Linked DNA regions of Homo sapiens: all the other regions are linked to region 4. Evidence: promoter capture Hi-C in 16 types of primary human blood cells and fetal thymus (Javierre and others, 2016). All regions are on one chromosome and are shown on one strand. The core of a region is centred on a gene start or on the middle of the fragment in contact, and the rest is flanking DNA. Distances in the headings are between cores, read along the strand shown. Region 1 overlaps LOC107987064 (a long non-coding RNA gene). Region 2 has its middle 150 kb from the start of ALDH1B1. Region 3 has its middle 110 kb from the start of SHB. Region 4 holds the start of SLC25A51 (solute carrier family 25 member 51). Region 5 has its middle 4.7 kb from the start of FBXO10.

Region 1 (4,469 bases), core at 1,073-3,572, 300 kb before region 4:
AAAAAAAAGTTTTCTGGATCAAAACAGCTAGAAATACACCAGAAAAAATTATGACAACTGCTACCAATTACTGGGCATCTACTTACTGTATACTGAGAAACTTGTGTATCTAAAACTGTTAGGTACTTCACTTACATCACATTAACTCATCTTTGAAACCCTGCAAAATAGAGTTATTTTCACCATTTTGTAAATGAGTACATGAGGAAACTGAAGCTAGGGAGACAGTTTAAGTAACTTGCCCAAGGTCACACAGCTACTGTGTAGGTTTGCAAACATAGTCCTAGACGAGTGGGGCCTCTCAGAGGCTGAGAGAAGCCTGGGCCACTTCCAATTTTTAAGGTGCCTAACATACTGATAAATGAAGATATGAAGAAACAATTACCAAAATTGTGATATACAGTCAGTCATGCATCGCTTAACGGTGTGGGATATGTTCTGAGAAATTCATCCTTAGGTGATTTTGTTGTTGTGTGAACATCATAGAGTGTACTTACATAAACATAGATGGCAGAACTATGTGCCTAGGCTATATGGTATAGCCTATTGCGCCTAGGCTACAAACCTGTACAGCATGTGACTGTACTGAACACTGCAGGCAACTGTAACAGAGTGGTAAGTATTTGCATATCTAAACATAGAAAAGGTACAGTAAAAATACAGTATTATAATCTTGCGAGACCACCATCAAGCATGCAGTCCTTCATTGACCAAATGTTGTTATGTGGTGCATGCCTGTATTTTAAATCTTTACATTTATCAAATGAGCACTTTCAATATAAAAAAAGAAGGCAATGAGATATTGCTAATCACAAGATAATTCCAGTATGTATTTTAAAAGCATATTAATTTATAAGGTACTACAAATGGTGTGGTTCAGTAATGGGATGCAAATGTTACTTTGGTGAACATTTCCTACTTTGATCTGGTGAATGTACCTCTCTGATGGGACATATAACTTCCTTTGGAGGTGCTATAGTTCTATCTGTTTGACCCCTCAAAATCTCATGTTGCAATTTGATCCCTAGTGTTGGAGGTGGGGCCTAGTGGGAGGTGTTTGAGTTATGAGGGCAGATTCCTCATGAATGACTTGGTGCCATCCTCATGGTAATGAGTGAGTTCTTGCTGTATTAGTTTCCTGGAGAACTGGTTGTTAAAAAGAGACTGGTACCTCCTGCCCCACCATGTGATCTCTGCCCACACAGGGCAGCAGCATCTGCTTCTGGTGAGGGCTTCAGGTTTTCTCATGGCAGAAGGTAGAGGGGAGCCTGAGTGTGCAGATATCACCTGGCTAGAGAGGAAACCAGAGAGGGGGAAGGAAGCACGATGTTTCTTGTACATCCTGCAGAACCATGAGCCAAATTAACCTCTTTTTAAAATAAATTACCAAGCCTCAGGTATTCCTTTATAGCAACACAAAAATGGGTAAAGACAGGAGATAACATCAAAAGATTAAATATAAGCTCTTTCATGAGGTCAGGCCCAGCCATGGGGCCCACCTGGCCATTGCCTGACCTCAGCCCAGCCCCCATGAAAGGCCTGAGCATGAGCCAAAGGAATTCATCCTATAGCATCAAGCAGCCCTCAGCTGAGAAATGAGCTCCCAGAGAGGGTTCTTATGGAAACAAGTCTCTGCTCTCATCAGAGAATTGAGCCATCTTTGTTTTATGTCACAAAATGATTATATTCTGGGATGTTTCACTCCATTGTGTCCAGGCTTACCCTGAACCAAGAAAAGTAGAGATTCACCAACATTGCCAGTATAGACGTAGAGAAAGGGATAGGAGATGCAGGGCTCTATGTGGTTCAGAGGGTTGAGAAGGCATCTCAGAGATTACTCTGTGGCTCAATCTTGGAACATGAATAGGAGTCTGCTGGGTGGAGAAGATCATTACAGGTGGCTGGAATAGCACTGGCAAAGGCATAGGGTTAAGAAAGCACGCGGCAGACATGGGAATGGTACAGAGGCCAGCGTGACTGTAGCCAGGGGTGGGTGGGGAGAGTGGAAGCAGACAGAGCTAGAGGAGAGATTGGGGAAATACTGGAGAGAGTGTTGTACCTGAGAAGGCCCGGCCAGGTCTCTCTCCCTTGAGGGATGCAGTCTTTTGCTTCCAAAGAGTAATCTCAGCCCTAGAGTGCAGCTGTGTGCCCAGAATAAATCCCTGTGGGATGCATTCCATCCACTCCTTGCAGCAGGTCTTTTCAAAAGATTTCAGCAGCCTCTTGTTTGCCTATAGCTCTTATGCAAGCTGCTGCAGGCCAGGTGTTCCTTGGAGCCTAAATTCTGCATTTCCCATCTGTATCATTTACAAACCAACCTGGATATCTCCCTGCTTCTAGACAAATCTGAGGTCTTTTACATAGGTCAATCTGTTGAGAAAAGAAAAATGTAATGAGGTTCCGGCCAGGTACAGTGGCTCACTCCTGTAATCCCAGCACTTTGGGAGGCTGAGGCAGGAGGATCACCTGAGGTCAGGAGCTCAAGACCAGCCTTGCCAACATGGCAAAACCCCGTCTCTACTAAAAATACAAAAATTAGCCAGGCATAGTGGAACACACTTATAATCCCAGCTATTTGGGAGGCTGAGGCAGGAGAATCGCTTGAACCCAGGAGGCAGAGGTTGCGGTAAGCTGAGATCACGCCACTGCACTCCAGCCTGGGTGACAGAGCAAGACCCCAGCAGAAAGAAAGAAGAAAAGAAAGAAAGAAAGAAAGAGAAAAAACAGAGAGAGAGGGAGGGAGGAAGGAAGGAAGGAAGGAAGAAGAAAAATGTAATGAGGTTTTGAAATAACAAAGTCAGTTCCCTGATAATTTTACAGGCTTGAGAGTAAAGAAAGGCCAAGAAGGTTGGTTTGAAGGCAGAGAACAACTAAGGTGGCCTAGAATCGTCACATCTTGGCACCTAGAGCCATCAGGGTTCTCTGAGACCATCTGGTCCAAGGACGGCAAATATATGGCACATGTGCCATCCTCCCCACATCTGGTGTCCAGGGCAGATGTTGTTAATCTATTGCTACACACTTTTTAGCCAAGCATCTCCCCATCAAGCACATTCAGCTCATAAGTGAAAGCCAATTGATCATTCCTGATGGTTTCCATTACCCCCATTTCATAGATGAGAAAATGGAGGCACAGGGAGGTTAAGGGGTTTGTCCAAGGAGAGCTTTCAGTTCCTCCCCACCATTTCCACATGGTTTGTGGAAGACAAACACTTTTATGCCTCAACTGTAATAAGGGAATGAGTCCAGCACCTGGGATAGGGTTTTAAAAGCAACAAAATTTTTTTCCATTTCCAGTTCCAGTTGTTATATGACAATGCTTTGAAATGTATATTTTTATTATCATAATAAAAGAACACATAAACAGTTAGTAAGTTGTGTCCACACACTTAATAAAGGCCTAAGGAATTTATTCATTCACCCAAGGGCCAGGCAGTGTACTGGGTATTGAGTTTATGAGGACACCAAAGACATCCCAGGGGCCCAGGGAACTGAAATGTCCAAATCTGATATTCTGCTTAGTTGGGAGAGGTGAGAGCTGGCCTCACAAGCAGGTACAGTGCAACTCCCTTCCCAGGGATGAAAAGGACCCAGAGGTTCCACACATGCCACCCCTCACTCGGTCCTCTATACAATATTTTCTAGAGCCCCTGACAGGCCCCTGTTCACACACCTCCAGGGATCACTACTTCCCAAGACTGCCAACTGTATCTTCAGCTGGTTCTACCCACTACAAATTCTTCCTTTTGCTGAAAGGGAATGAGCCTCCCCGTGACTTCCACCAAACTGGCCCTGCCTTTGTCCTGTGAGGAACTAGTTTTCCGAGGACCTAAGAGAGAATGTTGTGGGGGAGGGGTCTCTTGTAAGAGAGAGACAAAGCCAAGAGGAAAGGAAAGGCACTAAAACCATCCTTCCCAATTTACCGTGTGGCAAGACCATTTCCTATCCCCACGCATAATTCTTAAGCATATCAGTGGAACATCATCTTGCCCATTCTGCCCTGGTACATGCTGAGATCCTCGTAAATCCCAGCTCCTGCCGAAGACCCAAAATGCATTGTCTATGGGATCCTGTACAAGAGAGCTGGTTGCTATGGTAACAACTGGAGGTAAATTTCCTAGCACCCCCAACTAAACTATTAATCAGAAAGATGAGGAAAGAGTCAGGGTGGTCAATAAATTAGGGAAGAAATTGGCTCCTACCGGGAAGCACACAGAGCAGGGCCACCCCACCCCACCCCACCCCCACCCCCACCCCCACCCCCGCTGAGGCCTCACTCTTCCCTCCCTTTGATCTTCTGATGCAGGAGGAGAAGCAGCCAGAGCCTGAGGGGAAACCTGCCTCCATTCTCCTCTCCAACTCTTTGTTTCTCATCCTGGTGGAGTCAGAGAGGTTCCCAAGTGGAAGCTGCACCCGGCATCTCATCAGTGAGGGCCCCAGTTAGCAGGAACATCAAAGGTAGAAATGCT
Region 2 (4,891 bases), core at 392-2,891, 340 kb before region 4:
GTAGTCAGCATAAAATGTTGACAGGGGCTAGAAGTCCACGGGGTGGAAATTTTTATTGACTAAAAATTGACCAAAGCTTCAAATCTTCTTGACACTATGTTGATTGGCTCGATACGACCCAGGAAACTTGGGCTTGGTGGAAATAATGGCCATAAAAGAAAAAAAAAAATGACACTCTCATAAGTCAATTTTTAAAAAACAAACTGACTGGTAAACCAAGTCTTCATGGTGAAACAGTTTGATTGAAATAATTTTAGTAAGACCAAAATGGGAATGGGAAAACTTGAGAAGAAAACGAAACTGAAAAGTAATCAAATTAGTCAATTAACTTTATGGTGCTTCCTTTAAAAAATAATTTTTCCATAAGAATTAATCAGTGTTGATATAATTCTTATTAAACTGTTGATAGCAGCAGAGTCCAATCCCCAGGCTTGTGGTGCAGTGAGGGAGACATGGATGACTGGCCTTGTTTTACCTGCCTACCATCTCTTATTACTCACTGTGCACACGCAGATGCCTGTGATGGGCTGCCTGGTTCCTCCTGATTTGTAATCATCATTGTCTTACCAGTGATTTTTGTACTTCCAAACGAGTTGAGTTTTTACACTAATCACTGCCTCTTTAATCAATTAATGAGAATTAAAAGGTCATCTATCATTGGAAATTGCAACTGGCATCACCAAAGCACTACATTGGCCCACAGATGCTAAAGAATTGCATCCTACGTGAATAATTGTACTTTGGCTTTAATGAGATTTTATTAACATATGCATTATTAATTAGACCATTAATGCAGATGTCATTTTGAGTCACACCAGGATTCCCGATGGCTCACATGGTTATTAAACCTTGCTAGTTTGCACAGTGAATTAATATTATATTAAAGGTTCTCTCCACTGTGTATACTAAATTAAAATGCTTACTTTCAACGTCTCACCCACAGCATCCACGCATACTTGTTAGGGAAAGGAATAAGAGGGAAAGATTTCCATTGTAAGACCTGAGAGCTTTCTGTCTTGCAAATAACTTTGGTGTCTGCAAGTAGATAGAGAAGGAGAAGCTTAGGGAGTGGAGAAGAGAGAGGAAATCCCTCCCCCACGCCCCACACCACGAAGGGGCCTACTGTTCTTTAATTAGCAAGGTTTCCTAATGTGTCTAAAATAGAATATTTAAACTTTTTCTCACTATAAAGTATCATGTATTTATTGTAAATGATTTAGGAAATACGCATACACAAAAATGAGAACGTTTTCATTACCCATTCTTTCAGCACTCAGTAATTACCATTCTGAATATTCTCGTGTGATATTTTAGTCTACTTTCTCTATACTTAGACATCCTTTTACACAAACAAAATAATACTCTACGTACTGTTTTAGAACCTGCCTTTTTAACTTAATATTTCTTGGATACCTTTCCATATCATTTAATGTTCTTCTAGAGCATCAATTATCACATTACACATATCGATCTATGTGATTCTTTTCTATGGCTGTGGGTTGGTCAGCTTTGTGTGTCACACTGGCTAGGCTACAGTCCCCTAGTTATTCAGTCAAACACTAATTTAGATATTGCCATGAAAGCATTTTGTAGATGTGATTAAGGTCCATAATCAGTTGTCTGTAAGTAAGGGAGATTATCCTGGACAATCTGGGTGAGCCTGACTCAATCTATTGGAATGCCTTAAGAGCAAACCTGAGGTCCTCTGAAGAAGAAGAAATCCTACCTGTGGACTGCAGCTTCAGATGATGCCCAAGAGTCCCAGCCTGCCTTTCCTGCTGGCTGCCTTACAGATTTTGAACTCTCCTAACCAGACCCCACAACTATGTGAGCCAATTCCTTGCAAGCAAGCAACAAGCAATAAATGAATATATAACCTACTGGTTATGTTTCTCTGGTTGATCCCTGATGAATGCAGGCTGTGTAGGATTTTACTACATGGCCCTACCGTAATTTATTGAACCAATCCCCCATTGTTGGACATTGGGCTGGATTGTCTTGTTGTCAACTTGGCACCATCTCCTGTTTCAGGCTGGAATGATGCTTCCCAGTATGTTGTTTGCTGTGTGTGTTTCCAGGATGGGGATTACTGATGGGAGAAACCCACGCAAAATTTGGAAGGAAGAAGGAAAAGGGAAGCCACTGCTGCTGGGAGGGAATGCCAGTCAGGCACAGTGGCAGCGTCACTAGGCATGGCAGCTTCAACGGACACCAAAGCTTTGCCGACCACCCCGTGAACTCTCACCCCATGGATGCACTTTGGTGGCCAGATGCATGCAGTTCCTCAGACTTTCCCACAAGCTCGTCCCCGCCAGCTGCACCTGGCTTCAGACAGAAGTGGTTACCAATGGTTTCTCCAATGCTTCAACATTCCCTTTCTAGAACCTCACTGTCACTACTACTCCCAGATTTGCATAAGCCCCAACTCCTGTGTTAAACCCTTTATTCCCATAATACTTATAATAGCTCTGTTTTCCTCAATGAAACCACTAGTTGTTCAGGGGAACTGGTCTTTAAGAATGGGAATGTGAAATTCTTTCACTACTATTAGAATTAAGGGCAGAAATGTCACCATTGCAAAATCATGGTAGTCCATGGCACAAAGTGGCAAAACATTTCCTTAAGTTATTACCTGTAGTCACCTGAAGTCAGGTACGTGGAGAAAAAGTCAGGTGACCGACTAGCTGCTGTAACAGAACAGTGGAAACAGCATGTAAGGACTGTAGGTTAGTTAGCTACTTCTGACTGTGATGATGAATTTGAAAAAAGAAAATGGTGACCTTGGGCTTAAAGTGACCAACTCAAGGCCAGGTAGGAAAAGACAAGGCTTTGATGACTGCCCTGAAATAATCCTTTGGTTCAAGGTCACAGAAATCATTGACCTGACCACATCCTCTAAACAGCAGGCCTGATACAACAATGGATTGGCCTTTGATAGACTCATTTATGGCACCTGCCAAGTGACAAACCTTTGCAGGGCTGAGGTAATGTCCTGTGGAATGGGGTATATGCTCTAACTCAGTGACCAATGTCTGCTACTGTTTCTCCCACAGCTAGCATTCATGGGTCCAGGAATCAATGGAAGGAAACAGAAGTAGTTCATACCACAACTACCCTTAATGAAGCACAAGCAACATTTTCATTTCTATCATTGTGGCTTTGAGCTCCCTGGTGCAGAAGTCTTGATTCCCAAAGGAAAGCCACTTCCATCAATGGACACAACCATAGTCCACTGAACTGGAAGCTCAGACTGCCCCCTGGCTACTCTGGGCCCCCCGTGCCATTTAACCAAGAGGCAAGGAAGGAGGTAGTGTCCTCACTGGAGTGATTAGTCCTGATTACCAAAGGGGAAGTAAGCTGCTACTACACGATGAGGACAAAGAGGAGTCTTTCTGGAACCCAGGAGATTTTTCTGGAATGCCTCTTAATACCCCCATGGCTTATGGTAAACGTTCATTAAAATAACAGCATAGGCTGGGTGCGGTGGCTCACGCCTGTAATCCCAGCACTTTGGGAGGCCGAGGCGGGCGGATCACGAGGTCAGGAGATCGAGACCATCCTGGCTAACACGGTGAAACCCCATCTCTTCTAAAAACACAAAAAATTAGCCGGGTGTGGTGGCTGGGGCCTGTAATCCCAGCTACTTTGGAGGCCAAGGCAGGAGAATGGCGTGAACCCAGGAGGCGGAGCTTGCAGTGAGCCGAGATAGCGCCACTGCACTCCCGCCTGGGCGAAAGAGCGAAGACTCCGTCTCAAAAAAAATAATAAAATAAAATAAATAACAGCATAGTCTAATGCCGTAGGCTCTTCAGGAATGCAGATGTGAGTTTTCCACCAGGCAAGGAACCATAACCAGCCAAGGTGCTTACTAAGGGCAAAAAAGTTTAAGAAGGGAAGTGGAAGGAAGTATAGCAGGAAATTTCAATGTTCCAAAAGCTAAGTATACAGTTTCCCCTGCTTTAATGGAGTCCTCATATTGTGAGATATTCAAAATAGCAAGTTCTCCTAGCTTAGGTTTCATAAATCTTCAAATGACAAAAAACCAGTTTGACCACAACTTTCCCAAGCCTTCTGTACTGAGTGAGGAAGTGTCCATCTTTACCCTGTTCAGGGCACACATCTCTGTCCTCAGAGGTCCAACTGCCGGTTCACATGGCATCAGAAGGCAAATGAGAAAAAGATGCCCCTTTCCCACATGAAGTTTCAAAAGAGTTACATTATTAATTTTTTTTTTTTTTTTTTTTGAGATGGAGTCTTGCTCTGTCACCCAGGCTGGAGTGCAGTGGTGCAATTTCGGCTCACTGCAGCCACCGCCTTCTGGGTTCAAGTGATTCTCCTGCCTCAGCCTCCTAAGTAGCTGGGATTACAGGCATGCACCACCACGCCCGGCTGATTTTTGTATTTTTAGTAGAGACGGGGTTTCACCATGTTGGCCAGGCTGGTCTCGAACTCCTAACCTCAGGTGATCCACCTGCCTCAGCCTCCTAGAGTGATGGGATTACAGGCATGAGCCACCACACCCGGCCCATTATTTCTTAATAATCATTATTATAACAGTCATTTTGTATATGTAACAAAAAGAAAATTGTAGAACATCAAAGAACACTCGAAATTCATTGAGCTGTATACTTAAAATTTCTGTACCGTATGTACATTAAACCAAAATACAGGATGTTAAATGAAATAGAAATTTTAAACTCATACTCACTGTAATTAGAACTAGAATATGATTGTTTTAAAATTGCTAAATATGTTGTACAGCACCCCTTTTATGCCCCACCTCACATCCTCTAGGCAACCTTTTCTACTCCAGCTGTTTTTGAGACAACCAGCTGTGTGCAAGTTTAACCTGAGAGCAGCTCACTCAGTCGCCCCTGTTCCCTCCTCAACC
Region 3 (4,899 bases), core at 1,774-4,273, 280 kb before region 4:
CATTGGCTAATTTCTTTTTTATTTATTTATTTATTTTTGAGATGGAGTCTTGCTCTGTCGCCCAGGGCTGGAGTGCAATGGCACCATCTCAGCTCACTGCAACCTCCGCCTCCCGGACTCAAGTGATACTCAGCCTCCCAAGTAGCTGGGATTACAGGCATGTGCCACCATGACCTGCTAATTTTTTTTTTTTTTTTTTTTTTTTAGACGGAGTTTCACTCTCGTTGCCCAGGCTGTAGTGCAACGGCACAATCTTGGCTCACTGCAACCTCCACCTCCCAGGTTCAAGTGATTCTCCTGCCTCAGCCTCCCTAGTAGCTGGGATTACAGGCATGTGCCACCACGCCCAGCTAATTTTGTATTCTTAGTAGAGATGGGGTTTCTCCATGTTGGTCAGGCTGGTCTCTAACTCCTGACCTCAGGTGATCTGCCCACCTCGGCCTCCCAAAGTGCTGGGATTACAGGCATGAGCCACCGCACTCGGCTAATTTTTGTATTTTTTTTTAGTAGAGGAGGAGTTTTGCCATGTTGGCCAGACTGGTCTCCAATGTCTAACCTCAGGTAATCCACCCACCTCGGCCTCCCACAGTACTGGGATTATAGGCATGAGCCACTGCATCCAGCCTCCTTGGCTAATTTCTTTTACAGTTTCTTTTCTTTTTTTTTTTTTTTTTACTAAATGGGGGAAAAAATAGTACTCAAGAAGACTGAATAGGTAGCATATAATCTATCCTGCTTCAAATCCATCACTGCAGTTGGCTCATTTTCTTCATCTGTAACAGGGAATAATAATGGTACATAATTCAAGGGTTTGAGCATTCAACTAAGATGCATAAAGTGCATAGCACAGTGCCTTGCACATAATAAATGGTCATTAAATGATAGCTATTTTTGTATTATTATTCTTTAGCACAAAATTAAATCCTAAATGTCTTACTCCCTCCAAAAGGGATTAAATTATGATTTAATTTTATGATTTAATTTGTGGGGACATGCTCTGAAACTGGCATAATGAAAATGGTGCCTTCACAGTGGAGAAAGTTGGAGGAGAAGATTAAAATTAAGTCAACAATAGTGTGATGGGTTGGCATTGTGCACTTCCTGATAGAGCACATGGAGAGCACCCAGCATCATTTTTGTGTAATTCCTGCCAAACCTCATGTTGAAATTTGATCCCCAATGTTGGAGGTGGGTCCCAATGGGAGGTGCTTAGGTCATAGGGGTGGATCCTTCATGAATGGCTTGATGAAGTTCTTGCAATAGTGAATTTTCACTCTACCAGTCCCTACCAGAACTGGTTGTTAAAGAGAGCCTGGCACCTCCCTCCCCTCTGTCTTGCTTCCTCTCTGGCCATGTGATCTCTGTACACTCAGGCTCCCCTTCTCCTTCTGCCATGAGGGGAAGCAGCTTGAGGCCCTTACCAGAAGCAGATAAGCTTCTTGTACAGCCTGTAGAACCATAAGCCAAATAAATCTTTCTTTATAAATTACCCAGCTTTGGGTATTCCTTTTAGCAACACAAACAAACAAGATAGTTTCTCTAAGGATAAGTCTATCAAAGCAGCATAAATAGCCATCCCAAACAAGTATGGCGTTTGTTCTATTGGTTTCTGTGTGGCACCCATGCTAAGGAAATAAAAATGTCTTGTGTGAACAGGTTTCCAAACTACTGCCAAAAATTTTCTTTTGACCTCTTGCTGTGACAAACTGCATTAATGCACTTGTTCATAAAGAGCCACCTTTACATTCCTGTAGTAAAGCTGACTTGGTCATAATGTAGTATTCTTTTAATATACTACTGAATTGAATACTAACACTAAAATTTATATGGGATGTATGCCTCTATGTTCTTAAATGTGTAATCATTGTATTGAACAGTCTGAAGTCAGCAGGGCGTAAACATAAGATGGTTTTGTGGGGTTTTTTGTCCAATTGCTTATCTTCAGACAAATTCTTCCAAATCTCTTCTTCCTGACCCATAATGACATTTGAACAAATCTTATGGATTTGTGGTCACTTTCAATTAACAAAAAGTCCAGGCCAACCTATTACCAGTTTAAAACTTCAGTTACAGCATCAGCAGTACTGTGTCCAAGTGCAAGGATGTCAAGAATGTTTCCTTATCCAAAACTTCCAGGAAGAATTTAGAGCTCAGACAGAACCCCACAGAAGCTCCTTCACAAATGTGCAGAGGATGCAAATAAGTGCCTTTGCTTGCTCTCCGTGGTCAGCATGAGTTTACAGCAGGAATAAGGGCATTCAGAACACCTGGAAGCAATAGACGTCCTTTCGAAAGAACAAGATGATGGTGGCCTCAGGCAGAGAAGCCTGTCTGCTGAGTACAAAGACCATGTGCACCAGTCTAATAACAGTCAAGGGAAGACATTGGTCTCTAGTTTACCAACCACCTAAGGAGGAAGTGAGTGAAATTATCTGAAATGAACCATGCCAAGCCTGGGTACAAAGCAAGATTCTTCATGAGCCTGGACTTGGAGGTCTCTATAGCTATTCCTCCACTCCATGGAGCTACACTCAGCCTGCTCACCCCCATCAAGAGCAGTGTGAAAGGAATGAACTACTGATACACACTGCAAAATGGATAATCCTTGAAAATATGATGTGCGGTAAAAGGAGCCAGTCACGAGTGACAATATACTGTATAATTCCATTCTTATAAAAGTCCAGAATGGGGTCTCTAGAGAAACAGGAAGTAGATTTCTGCTTGCTTATGGCTGGGGGGCAGTGGTTGGAGGATAGAGGAGTAATAGCTAAAAGGTACAGGATTTCTTTCTTTTGAGATAATGAAAATATTCTAAAATTGACTATGATGATGGTTGCACACACCTGTGAATGTACTAAAAAACCATTGAATTGTACATACTGTTAAATGGGTGGATTATATGGTTTGGACATGGTTTGTTTGGCCTCACTAAATCTCATGTTGAAATGTGATCCCCAGTGTTGGAGGTGGGGCCAAGAGGAAGGTGTTTGGCTTGGTGCCATTCTCACAGCAGTGAGTTCTCACTCTTAGTTCCCATGAAAACTGGTTGTTGAGAAGAGACTGGCCCCTCCTTCTCTTTCACCATATAAGTCTGCATGCTAGCTTCCCTTCCTCCCCTTCTGCCATGAGTGGAAGCAGCCTGAGTCCCTTGCCAGAAGCAGATGCTGGTGCCATACTTCCTATACAATCTGCAGAACCATATGCCAAATAAACCTCTTGCCTCTTTAAATTATCCAGCCTCAGGTATGTCTTTATAGCAATGCAAATGGGCTAAGACATGTGTTATGCAAATTATATCTTAATAAAGCGATTTTTTTTTAAAAAAGAGAGACAGAGAAAGAGATGTGGAGATTCTGCCAACCAATGACAAAGTGTGCAAGAAAAACAACATGTTAAGGCATGGTAGGCCCATGTCCTGCAGCTCTTTAGGTCTGAGATGTCTGAATTCAAAAGGACCATCCGATTCATGCAGCAGGCACAGCTGGGGAGGTATGAATCAATGGGTAATGAGGCAAGAGGCACATACACATCCTCAGAGGCAAGAGGAAAGGGATGATGAATACTGGGGTACTCAGGCCTGTGAGCAACCCCCACCCAGGTCACAGAACTCCTCTTCCTGCCCTCTCCTCTCTGGGAAATACTTATTTGCTTCTGGCCTGGGGATAAGGAAGGGAGACAGGAAGGACTGACTTTCTACAAAAATTTTAAAACCGTATCTGCAGTTGACTCCCTGTGGGCAGCAAAAGGGACTTTTCTTAGAAAAAGACTCTTTGAAGTTGTGCTTTCCTCCAGATTTCTAACATTCAGAGCTTCTTTCCAGCTCTGGCTACTGTGACAGGCCCCTAGCCAGAGCAGTTTCTCTGCACTGGGAGTGAGCACCAGAAACCACCAGCACTGGGATTTCATTTCTTTGCCCCTAGTTGGAATACAGACTTCTGAGGGACATGTGCTCCCTGTCCACCCTCACCTTCGCCCACTGGGAGGAGGCCTGCGTCCTACTTATGCATAAGCCCCATGAATGTCAACTGAAAGAGAAGAGCATTTAGCCAAGGGAGGAGGAAAGCCACTGCTGAGGTGCAGCGTGAGCAGGATGGTCAGTGATGTGTCAATGACCAACAGTGATCTGGAAGTTGTAGTCCTCCCTTGAGGGTGACTCAGATGGTCTTTGCGTATATTGTTCCATCTAGAAGCATTGAGAAAACAGCTCCTTCTGTGCCTGTCTCCCTTTTTCTATCACATTCAGCAGAGGGAGGGCCATTCAGGCCCCTGTTGAGAGGCCAGGCTGGCTTTCAGGATGGGGGAGATCCCCAGGGAAGGGTACAGTTACCCCTGAGGCTTCCACCAGCCTTTTGTTCTGCTCCCCCTCACCAAGTCCCCAGGAAGCACAGGTCCCCTAGGTCTCTCAGGTGTGAGCTACCAAGTCAAGTGCCTGCTTTATCCAGACAGGCAATGCCAGAGAAGAGCTGCTTCACCATCTCTGTCTCAACAGCAATGATGACAGGGATGGACTCTCTGACTCCAGGGGTGCCATCCCTAAAGAACAGGCAGCTACAGCAGCCACCTGGCCACAACAATGGAAGGGAGAGGTGGCCAAGGGTGGGAGAAAGCTTTTGCCATCTTGAGCCATGAGAGCAAAGGGGAAACAGATGGTTCATCCATGAATAACCAGGTCAAAGACTCCACAGCAGCAGACTCAGTGATCCCTACTCAGAAGCTAAGAATTCTGTTCCAGCAGGTTCATGCTAGACTTGCCCAGGGTGAGCACATGACCTGGAAACCCTGTAAACCCTGTAAAGAGAAGCATCAGATTTCATTATCTAGAAACCTCCATTACATTGTGACCAGGGAAGTCACACACACACACACACACACACACACACACACGCATGTGCACGCACG
Region 4 (4,608 bases), core at 2,014-4,513:
AGTGGGGCGGGGGGTGGCTGTTGTTTTGTTTTCAAAGCTTCCCAGATGATTCTAATGTGAAACAGGGCTAAGAATCACTGATTCAGTGGGGCCCCACCACCATTAAAATGAATGAATGAATAAACTGAAGAGAACAAACAATCTCCCAGGCTGGCAGGGTAAACCCTGGGTCTCTGTTATATGTTATTAATACAGATGCACGTGAGTTGCTGGATCAGAGCAGGTTTGGACATGAATGAAGCAGAAAGGGAGAAGGTCCTGGAGTTCACAGACCAGCCATGGGGACAGACTGCAAGGACCTGAGGTGGGGGCAAGGGAGGGTGGGGCTGACAGCACTGAGGGGCTCTGCAGCAGGACGTAGTGAGTTCAGATGGGGCAGCAGTGACCAGAAGCCTCTGAACTGAGCCATGCAGGAGGAACAGGACATTGTTATGAAGCAAGCAAGACCTTTTAGGCACAGAGGACAAAAAATACCCAAGCGTTGGGGGACGTGAAAAGAATGCAGCAAGTTCAGGGAAGGGAACACCAAGGGGCTGGCTGGCCCTTGGCCATTTGGTACTGGGGGTGTGAAGGGGAGTGGCAGAGATAGTCACTCACAGTAGCTGATACTCCACTGACAGCTTGCGTAAGGCTGTTTTCGTGCACCTAAGAGCCAATGAAGTCTGAGGGCACCAGACAACCTTCTAGAAAGCATTTTTTGAGGGGAGGAGTGGAGGGTGATTAAGCAAAGATCCACCAGCAACCTTCTTATGGCCCTTTCCCCCAGGAACCCAGGCCCTGCCTTCCAACAGCTCTGCTCTCCACCCGCATTTCATTTCGGCAAACATCTCCTAGGCGCCCTTTTTGCCAAGCACTGAGTTGGAGAGCCAGGAAAAAGCCAGACAGCTCTGCCCTCATGAGCTGGCGGTGGGAAAGATCACACTGTCATGAGTGACTACAACATAGGACAGGATGTCAGAAGCGCCCCAAACTTTGGGGCATGGGAAGGCAGGGGCAAGGACAGTCAATTTTGCCTGAGATGATCAGGGAAGCCTTCTAGGAGGGAGAGGAGGCAAAAGGACCTTGAAGGGCTATTTGGTGAAGGGCTAACATGTATCAGTGGTGAAAGGGGGAAACAGGCTTAAGGAACACAGGATTTGCAAAACACTGAGACTGCATATGGCTAAAGCACAGAATATAGTTGGGGTTGAGGTGGACAGACTGGCAAAAGGGCCAGGACAGGACAGCCCCGTGCACCGAGTTAAGGAGTTTGGATTTACTGGGGGAACCAAGAGGGAACCAAGGGGGAACCATTGGAGATTTTTAAGCTGCGGGATGACATGATCACAGCTGGGTTGGAGGATATCTGGCAGCTGACCTAGTGGTTGGAGGTATGGAATGCAGGAATGGGTGGATGAGGACAGAAATGAAGGGCTAACTTTAAGATGGATCTGGTATCCAAAAATAGAGGGTTTTCATCCCCAACATTCATATGCCCAAGAAGAGCCAATGAAGGGCCTGGGGGTTTCTGACAAGGAACTAAGAGCTGGAGGGGCAGAGGACTGTGCTGTGGCCTGCAGCAGCATAAAAGAAGCAGACTGGGCTCAGCTCCAGACCTCAGTTTTCCCGTTAGCCTGGGATTTTCTGAGTCTGGTGTGCCCCAATTGTGTGTTTAATTTCAGTCTTTTCCTTCTTGTTCAGGTTTTACCGCAGGAGAATAACCTCTCCATTCTAATCTGAAATTAATTATTTATGCTTATGAACACGCTGGATGCCTGCCTGGTTTATTTATTTTTCAAATAATGCATCTGAATAGGCATTCACACAAGACAGGGCAAACATAATTTTGAGGCAAAGGCCCTTTCCAACTGTTGCCCGATTAACTGTTCTAAGCCATTGTGTAGCCTTGTCCTTATCCTGCGGAGTCCAAAATTTATCCCTCGCGTACTAATTAGATGGCAGGTGTCTGTGTCTGACAGTCAAGATTCGCATTATCCAGCCCCACCACCTGACCCTTACAATCTTATCTCCTGCTGCTATGACTTTCTCCACTGGGCCAAATTCCACTCATCCATCCTCCAAGGCCCAGTTCAAACGTCTGCTCTGTGAAGCCATCTCTGGTTCTCCCTCGAGGGGGGAGGTCCCCTCATGCTTCTGAATTTCCAGTCTTTTGTTGTTGTATCCTTCATCAGACGCTAAGCTCCCCAGGACCTGGCACGCAGTAGGTTCCTCAATGGAGCGTTTGCTGGAATGGGGGAGGGTGGTCTCCAGCTTCCCGAGAGGCACCTAAGCACGCCAGCCAAAGTGGGGCTGGGCAGAGACCAGACCCGCTTTTGGAGTCAGTGTCTACAAAGTGCTCTCGGGGGAAGGGGGCACGCGGGGAACGTCGCCCACCCGGAGCCGATCCCCCCAAGAACGCTTCACTCGGGTGGGGTTACTGCTTGGGCTCGCCCCAAGCACAGTGCGCACACTTCACACATCCGCAAGCCTCCTGAAACGCCTCTCCCCTCAGGCCGACCTTTCTGTTTCCTTCAACGCCTCCCATCTGTTGTGTGCGTTCCAGTTTCCAACTCAGAGTCAGAACCATCATTTCCAAAGACTCCTGCAACAGCCCGAGGACGCATACAAGGCATGGGTTACTTTTCAGACGGAGATTTGGGGCTCAGGGTCCAGCGACTCACCCAAGGTCACTCTCAAGAAGTATGAGGGCTATGACTTTGACCCAAGCCTTCTAACTCCCCGGGCAGCGCTCCTCCCAAGCCCCCCGCAAGCTGTCTGAGCTTCAAAGGAAAAAGTTTAAAAGTGATCCATACGTCCCAAAGCACGCACAAAGCGTTCTTCTGTAAACTGCGGCATGGGTCGCTGATAAAAGGTCCCTCTGAAGGTTTGAAGATACTCAACAAGGCTCCACAGAGGGTACTTTGGAGTTTTCCGCGAAGGCGCTCGCCCCGCAGAACCGACAAGGCCCCTAAAACCGACAATGCCCAGACGCCCCCTGCAGGCAGCGCGCTAGAGAACGCGTTGGCTGTTTCTGGCACGCTGAGGCCACCGTACGGCATCAAGGGTGAAGCATGGTGGCTAGCGGAGCCCGCATCCTGACAGGTGTGCTGGCGTGGCCCTCTACCTGCCCCGCCGCGGCGGCCTGCGGCCAGGAGAAGTAGGCTGGCGACATCTGGCGGGCCGCGGGCCGAGGGAGGGGAGGCGGGGCGGGGCGGTGTCTCCCTCACGTGACCCCAACAGCGCCCAGCGCGTCGCGCTGCGCCCCAACCTCGGGGTCGGTCACAGTCTGCGCCTGCGCGGGCCCCGGCTCGCTAGCCGTCCTGCGGGACGCCGGCGCTGATGGGTGAGTGTGGGACGAGCGTGGGGAAGCACCGGGCTTTCTTCGCATGAGGTTGGAGGGAGGGGAAACGCGCTGAAGGGCCCGCTGGGGCAGGCTGCCGCCCTGGGGGCCCATCCCTGTCTTCTGCGCGCTCCGGCTGCCCTGGCCCGGTCCCTGCGGGCCCCACCCAGGCGGCGCGGGCGGAATCAGTTCTGAGCCTCCTCGGCTCCGGGCTCCCCCGCCTGCCGCGGGTGTTTGTCCGGCTGCTGGGCGACCTTTCCCGCGAAGGCGCTGTCCCTTCATTCGGGCGCGCCCTGGGCTGGGGAGGCACCTCCCTGGTGCACAGGAACCGCAGGGGCGGGGAGGAGCCGGGAGCTGCCTGCGCCCGGGGGACAGCGGGGATGGCACCGCGCAAGGGCCTCTGCGTCCCGGGAGACTGGGATTTCGGCCTCACCTCGGGACCCCTGACTGTGAAGTGTCAGAAACGGAAGAGGACTTAGTGATCTTGTCCAACCCCCTCCCCGCCTTTCACAGGTTGGGGAAATGGACGCCTGGAGAACGGTAAGTTCAGCTACATAGCCTGGCAGTGCTTGTTCTGCGACAGCATATTGCATCGCGTTGTAGGAAGCTCACTTGTACAAGGATTTTCGGGGACGATGGTGTTGGTGGTGTTAGTCTCCATCCATTATTTGGTGTTCAGTTTAGCTAGATGGAGTATGTCAGCACCTCAACTTCCTGCAAAACCTTTGTTTTGCATCTCACAGCTCTACCTAGCTGATCTTAATTCCCACCTTCTGTTTTTCTCTACTTGTAATCTCTGAAACAGAAGCCCTTGAAATGTATAGTGACCTTGCCATTTTGAGCCGCCTCTGCCCGTGCTTTGAAAGGATTCCATAGGATCAAAAGGTGCTAGGACTCTTGAGGTCCCATAGTGGTTTAGAGCACAGGTTACCGCTTTGGAACTGGAATCACCCTTAGCGCATCTCAGGGGAAAACAAGCTAGGAGTTGACTCATCTGATCTCTCGTTTGGTAAATGAAAGCAAACTCAGATCAGTGGATTTTAAAATCAGATATTGCTTTGTCTTTATATTGGCAAGCTAGTGTCGTAACTAGGACTAGACCCAGGCTGATCTTGTTCTGAATGCTGACTCAGACCTGCTGACTAGTGGAAATTCACATCCTTTGAGAATTGGAGTCACCCTCTCCCCAGTTTTTGCAGAGACCTTTGTGCTAGGATCATATCTGTATCATGCTGATCCATGTAGGCTGTAAATTATAATAAGGTTTTAGACTTTACACTGTTTTCTTA
Region 5 (4,669 bases), core at 559-3,058, 320 kb after region 4:
CCTTTTTGAGGTCTATAATCTGCCATAAGATGCCATGTGAGTAAATATCTCAAAGACCTGAAAACCTTGCTGGAGGCTCAGAGAGAACTTACCTGAAAACATGACATTTAAAGGAACCTGAAGGGATAGGTCCAGGTTATCTAGGGTGACTAGGTAAAGGGAGGGTCAGGCAAAGATCATGTTGATCAAGGTGGGGAGTTCAGAATTGTCCACTTAAAACAATATTGGATGCAATATGGGTACTGTATTTGAAGGAGAGGTCAGAGGGGTATATGAGCAGCTCAGCATTTATTTAGATACGTGTAGTGAGGAAAGAAAGGCATCAAAGAAGACTCCCTGATTTCTGGTTTAAGTGCAGGGTTGACGGTGCCATTCGCTGAAGTAAGGAACAAGTTTCAAGGGGAAAATAATGGGTTCGATTTTGAGCCTGGGAGGCAGTAGGGAGGACTCCCTTAGGAAGAGACACATAAAGTAAGGTTTGGGTGAATAGGAATTGGCCAGATAGAGCGGGGCATCTTTGAAAAAGTGTTAAAGCAGATGTATTTGAGGAAGAAAGACCAGTGTGACTGAAGTGTGTTGTGCACAGAAGAGCAAGAAAGCCTCAGTCCTTCCAGAAACTCCTGTTATTTATTGTGTTTTCATACTTGAGTCTTAAGAGATTCCATTCTGACATCTGCTGGCTATTGTGTATACTGCAGTTCCAAATTCCACTACACAAGAACAACCTTTAATAACGTATTTTTTGAAATTTGTCATAATAAATTTGAGATAAAACACAAGACCTTTTCCTTACTCTGTGTTATGGACATCACCCAGGAGACAGTGAACAGTTGCTACTTACATGCTACTTGTGTATGCTCAGTATTACAGATATGCCTATGTGGTGTCAGTTGCCTACTTTAGCATAAGTACACAAAACATAGAAATCACATATGTAAAAGTTGAATATACTTGTTACTGAGATGTAAAACATTACAAAATCATTTATGCACTTTGTCTTTTAAACATACGAAATATTTTCAGAGTTATGAAATATGTTCTTAAATTGTTTCTTTCATTCAGAAATAAAACACAGCTGGTTTTAGTCCAACAGTCATTATAAGGCTAAAAAGATCTACTTTAAGCGTGTCTAATAGTTTTTCATCTTTTTCTCAGTCACATTAGTAATAGTAGAGTTGACCCTTGAACAACACAGATTTGAAGTGCACAGGTCCACTTACGTGCAGATTTTTTTCAAAAAATGCGTTGAAAAATCGGAGATTTGCAACAATTTGAAAAAAGCACACATATGTAGTCTAGAAATATTGAAAAAATTTAAGATAAAGGATGTCATGAATGCATAAAATATATGTAGATTGTAGTCTTACTCATAAAATGCACACATCTATTATAAAAAATTAAGATTTATCAAAACTTATGTACACAGACCATACATAGCACAATTTGAGGTCAAGAGAAAGATGCAGTATTAAATCATAACTGCATAAAATTATCTTTTGTAATAGTGTAATACAGTAAGTCCATAGCCACCTCTTGTTGCCACTGCAGGGAGCTCAAGTGTTATAGGTATCCACTTAAAATGCCATGTGACACTCATCTCTGCATGAGCAGTTCCTCGCTCCAGTAAATTGCAAATCAAAGTAAAAGCGATCCCTCTCTGTCTCATGTATTTTTTGTGTTTAATACCATACCACAAAACTTTGAATAACTCCATGGGATCTATACAGAGTGCCACTAGTGATGCTGGAAGTGCTCCCAGGAAGCAGAGAAAAGTCATGACATTAAAGGAAAAAGTTGAATTCTTGATATGTACTATAGATTGAGGTCTGCAGCTGTAGTTGCTCTGATTTCAGACACGACTAATCTTGTAAACAGACAACCTAAACTTAGAATCTAAATAAATACGGTATAGTACTGTCAATGCTTTTTCTCTCTGTGATTTTCTTAACATTTTCTCTAGCTTACTGTGTTGTAAGAATACAGTATATAATAGATAATGATACAAAATACATATTAATCTATTTTTTATGTTATCGGTAAGGTTTCTGTGCAACAGTAGGCTATTAGTAGTTAAGTTTTTGGGGAGTCAAAGTTACATGCAGATTTGTGACTGTGCAGGTGTCGGGGCCCCTAACTCCCACGTTTGTTCAAGTGCGGGGTATTTTCATTTCCACTTAAGTATATAGAGGCCAAAAATGCAAAAAAGAAAGAAACTATTACATAAACAGATGTACAAAGATAATACTGCATTTGAAATACAGTCACTTGAAATGTTCACTAATCAGCTTACATATTCAAGTATAAATTCGGTGAACAAAATGATTTAGGGACAGCGATATGTAATGTAAAAATTGTGGGTTGTTGGAAAGTAGAGATCTGTCTACATGGAAAGAATACTAGAATTAGGATTTCAATGTCCTAGATTATAGTTTCAGCTCTGCTATTTATCATGTGACTATGTGAGTCAGATTTTTTAGTTGCAAACACCAAAATCCAATTTTGACAGAAAAAGAAAAGTATTTTATTAAAAGGATAACAGGGAGTTCAGTATCACCAGGAGGCCTAGAGAATTAGGCTTGGAGAGTAGGCAACTGGAACATCACCCTTTGTTCCTTGGTCATACTCCACAGAGCTGGGGCAGTGAGGACGCCATTTCTGCTGAACATTAGGTGCCACCACTTACTTTGCCAAAGCCACATGCACAGAACCCTGGATCATGGCAGCCAGTGTTGCTCTAAGAACTTGCCGCACTTGCCATGGTCCCAGAGAAAATTATTCCAGAGACTTTATTGTGTCTCTGGTACTTAATTCAAAATCAAGAGTAATTTGTAGCATGATAGAATCACAAGGAGAAGCAGAGAAAATACCTGGAATTTCCACTTCTATAGTGAAAGGCATGTTCTGCTTCCCAGCAAACTCATAAACAAGGAATTCCCAAATGTAGGAAGGGACCTCAGATGCTGGGCAGCCAAAAAGCATGGCATGTCCACTATGTTGACCTGGGACACCACTCTGTGTGAGCCTACTTTTTCTGGAAAGCAAAGTAAATAAAGCTCCCATGGCTGAGGAGATTTTGTGTGTTCACTTATACATTTGCCAGTAAACACCAGCCAGGTGCCAGTGTATAAAGATGAGTAAGTTTCCTCTCGAGTCTAATGGTAGGATAGAGGCATGCAGAGGTGAGATGAGGGCAGAAAGAAGAGAGGGCTCAACTGTAGTTTGTGAATGATGTTCTTATATTTAAGTAGTTATATTTTTGGCTGGGCGCATTGGCTTACACCTGTAATCCCACCACTTTGGGAGGCCGAGGCAGGTGGATTACCTGAGGTCAGGAGTTTGAGACCAGACTAATCAATATGGTGAAACCCTGTCTCTACTGAAAATGCGAAAGCCTGTAGTCCCAGCTACTTGGGAGGCTGAGACAGAAGAATCGCTTGAACCCAGGAGGTGGAGGTTGCAGTGAGCTGAGACTGAGCCACTGCACTCCAGCCTGGGCAACAGAGCGAGACTCTGTTTCAAAAAAAAAAAAAAAAAAAAAAAACCCCTGGCCAGGTGTGGTGGCTCATGCCTGTAATCCCAGAGCTTTGGGAGGCTGAGGCGGGCGAATCACCTGAGGTCGGGAGTTTGAGACCAGCCTGGCCAACATGGTGAAACCCCGTCTCTACTAAAATACAAAAATTAGCTGGGCCTAGTGGCTGGTACCTGTTAATACCAGCTACGGGGGAGGCTGAAGCAGGACAATCGCTTGAACCTGGGAGGTGGGGGTTGCGGTGAGCCAAGATCATGCCATTGCACTCCAGTCTGGGCGACAAGAGCAAAACCCCATCTCAAAACAAACAAAAATTCCCATGTGGCACGTGATGCTTGCCCCACTAATAGGGAAGACAGCTTGCTCTTGTAGGACACTGCTGTAGCACTTTGAAAGTCAGCTGTTTTATACAAATACCAAAATGATAATGTTAGCTGGCACAAATCCAGAAACTCAAGCTTTTGATTGTTTATTGACAGTCATATCTGGACTGCCAGTTTCATGGAGTAAGATACTTTTCAAAGGATTAAATATGGCATAGCTTTGTCAGTCAGCAAGGTAAATCATCAGGCTCATTGCAGTGTGAGACTACCCCTGTGGTCTTTCTACTATACCTAGCTACTGTACAACTTTGTGTCTTAAAATAAATTGTTGGCTTTAGGTTTTAGTGTTTGGTTTTCTTATTTATAAAAGAGACCAGCTACATGGTAACTTAGACCTCACCCAGAATCATACCACATTCACCATATGGTAATAATAGATGGAATACATTTTTATGGAATATATTCTATAGAACCAGGGACTGAAAAAGGTCAGTAGGACCACGGGGTCAATTATTTCAGGCCACAATTTCGTGTAATAATTTCTTTTTCATAGTATTCTTGGTAAATTATGTTTCTATAGCTGATATTCTCTCGTAAATTCCGGAGGTCTGTATCCAACTCCTTTTCTTTTTTAGAGACAGGGTCTTGCTTCGTTGCCCAGGTTGGTCTCAAACTCCTGGGTTCAAGCGATCCTCCTGCCTCAGCCTCCTGAGTAGCTGGGATTACAAGTGAACTGCTTTTTTTTTTTTTTTTTTGAGACACAGTCTCACTCTGCCACTCAGGCTGGAGTGCAGTGGCGCACGATCTCTGCTCACTG

The links. Contacts are between HindIII fragments. The CHiCAGO score rates a contact against its expected background, and 5 or more counts as called.
Region 1: a fragment that was not itself captured here is called in contact with the fragment with the promoter of SLC25A51 in region 4 in 3 of 17 cell types (M1 macrophages, M0 macrophages and endothelial precursors); the score reaches 8.1 in M1 macrophages.
Region 2: a fragment that was not itself captured here is called in contact with the fragment with the promoter of SLC25A51 in region 4 in 5 of 17 cell types (endothelial precursors, M0 macrophages, M1 macrophages and 2 more); the score reaches 11.2 in endothelial precursors.
Region 3: a contact is called between a fragment that was not itself captured here and the fragment with the promoter of SLC25A51 in region 4, in 4 of 17 cell types (endothelial precursors, M2 macrophages, M1 macrophages and 1 more). The highest score is 9.7, in endothelial precursors.
Region 5: a contact is called between a fragment that was not itself captured here and the fragment with the promoter of SLC25A51 in region 4, in 4 of 17 cell types (megakaryocytes, erythroblasts, endothelial precursors and 1 more). The highest score is 14.3, in megakaryocytes.

What each region holds. Positions count from the first base shown.
Region 1 is chr9:38,202,096-38,206,564 of GRCh38, reverse strand. LOC107987064 (a long non-coding RNA gene) reads left to right here. Exons shown (of 2, transcript XR_001746667.2): 2 at 4,307-4,469. Among named protein-coding and RNA genes, the nearest start is that of SHB, 140 kb to the right of the region's middle. The HindIII fragment of the contact is 8,239 bases long and covers 1-4,469 here.
Region 2 is chr9:38,244,337-38,249,227 of GRCh38, reverse strand. No RefSeq gene overlaps it. Among named protein-coding and RNA genes, the nearest start is that of ALDH1B1, 150 kb to the left of the region's middle. The HindIII fragment of the contact is 1,157 bases long and covers 1,063-2,219 here.
Region 3 is chr9:38,180,661-38,185,559 of GRCh38, reverse strand. No RefSeq gene overlaps it. Among named protein-coding and RNA genes, the nearest start is that of SHB, 110 kb to the right of the region's middle. The HindIII fragment of the contact is 3,172 bases long and covers 1,438-4,609 here.
Region 4 is chr9:37,902,782-37,907,389 of GRCh38, reverse strand. It overlaps SLC25A51 (solute carrier family 25 member 51), which reads left to right and starts at 3,263. Exons shown (of 3, transcript NM_033412.4): 1 at 3,263-3,322. It also overlaps the pseudogene PAICSP1. RefSeq lists a silencer at 3,063-3,822. The HindIII fragment of the contact is 4,581 bases long and covers 40-4,608 here.
Region 5 is chr9:37,578,756-37,583,424 of GRCh38, reverse strand. No RefSeq gene overlaps it. Among named protein-coding and RNA genes, the nearest start is that of FBXO10, 4.7 kb to the right of the region's middle. The HindIII fragment of the contact is 4,363 bases long and covers 1-3,989 here.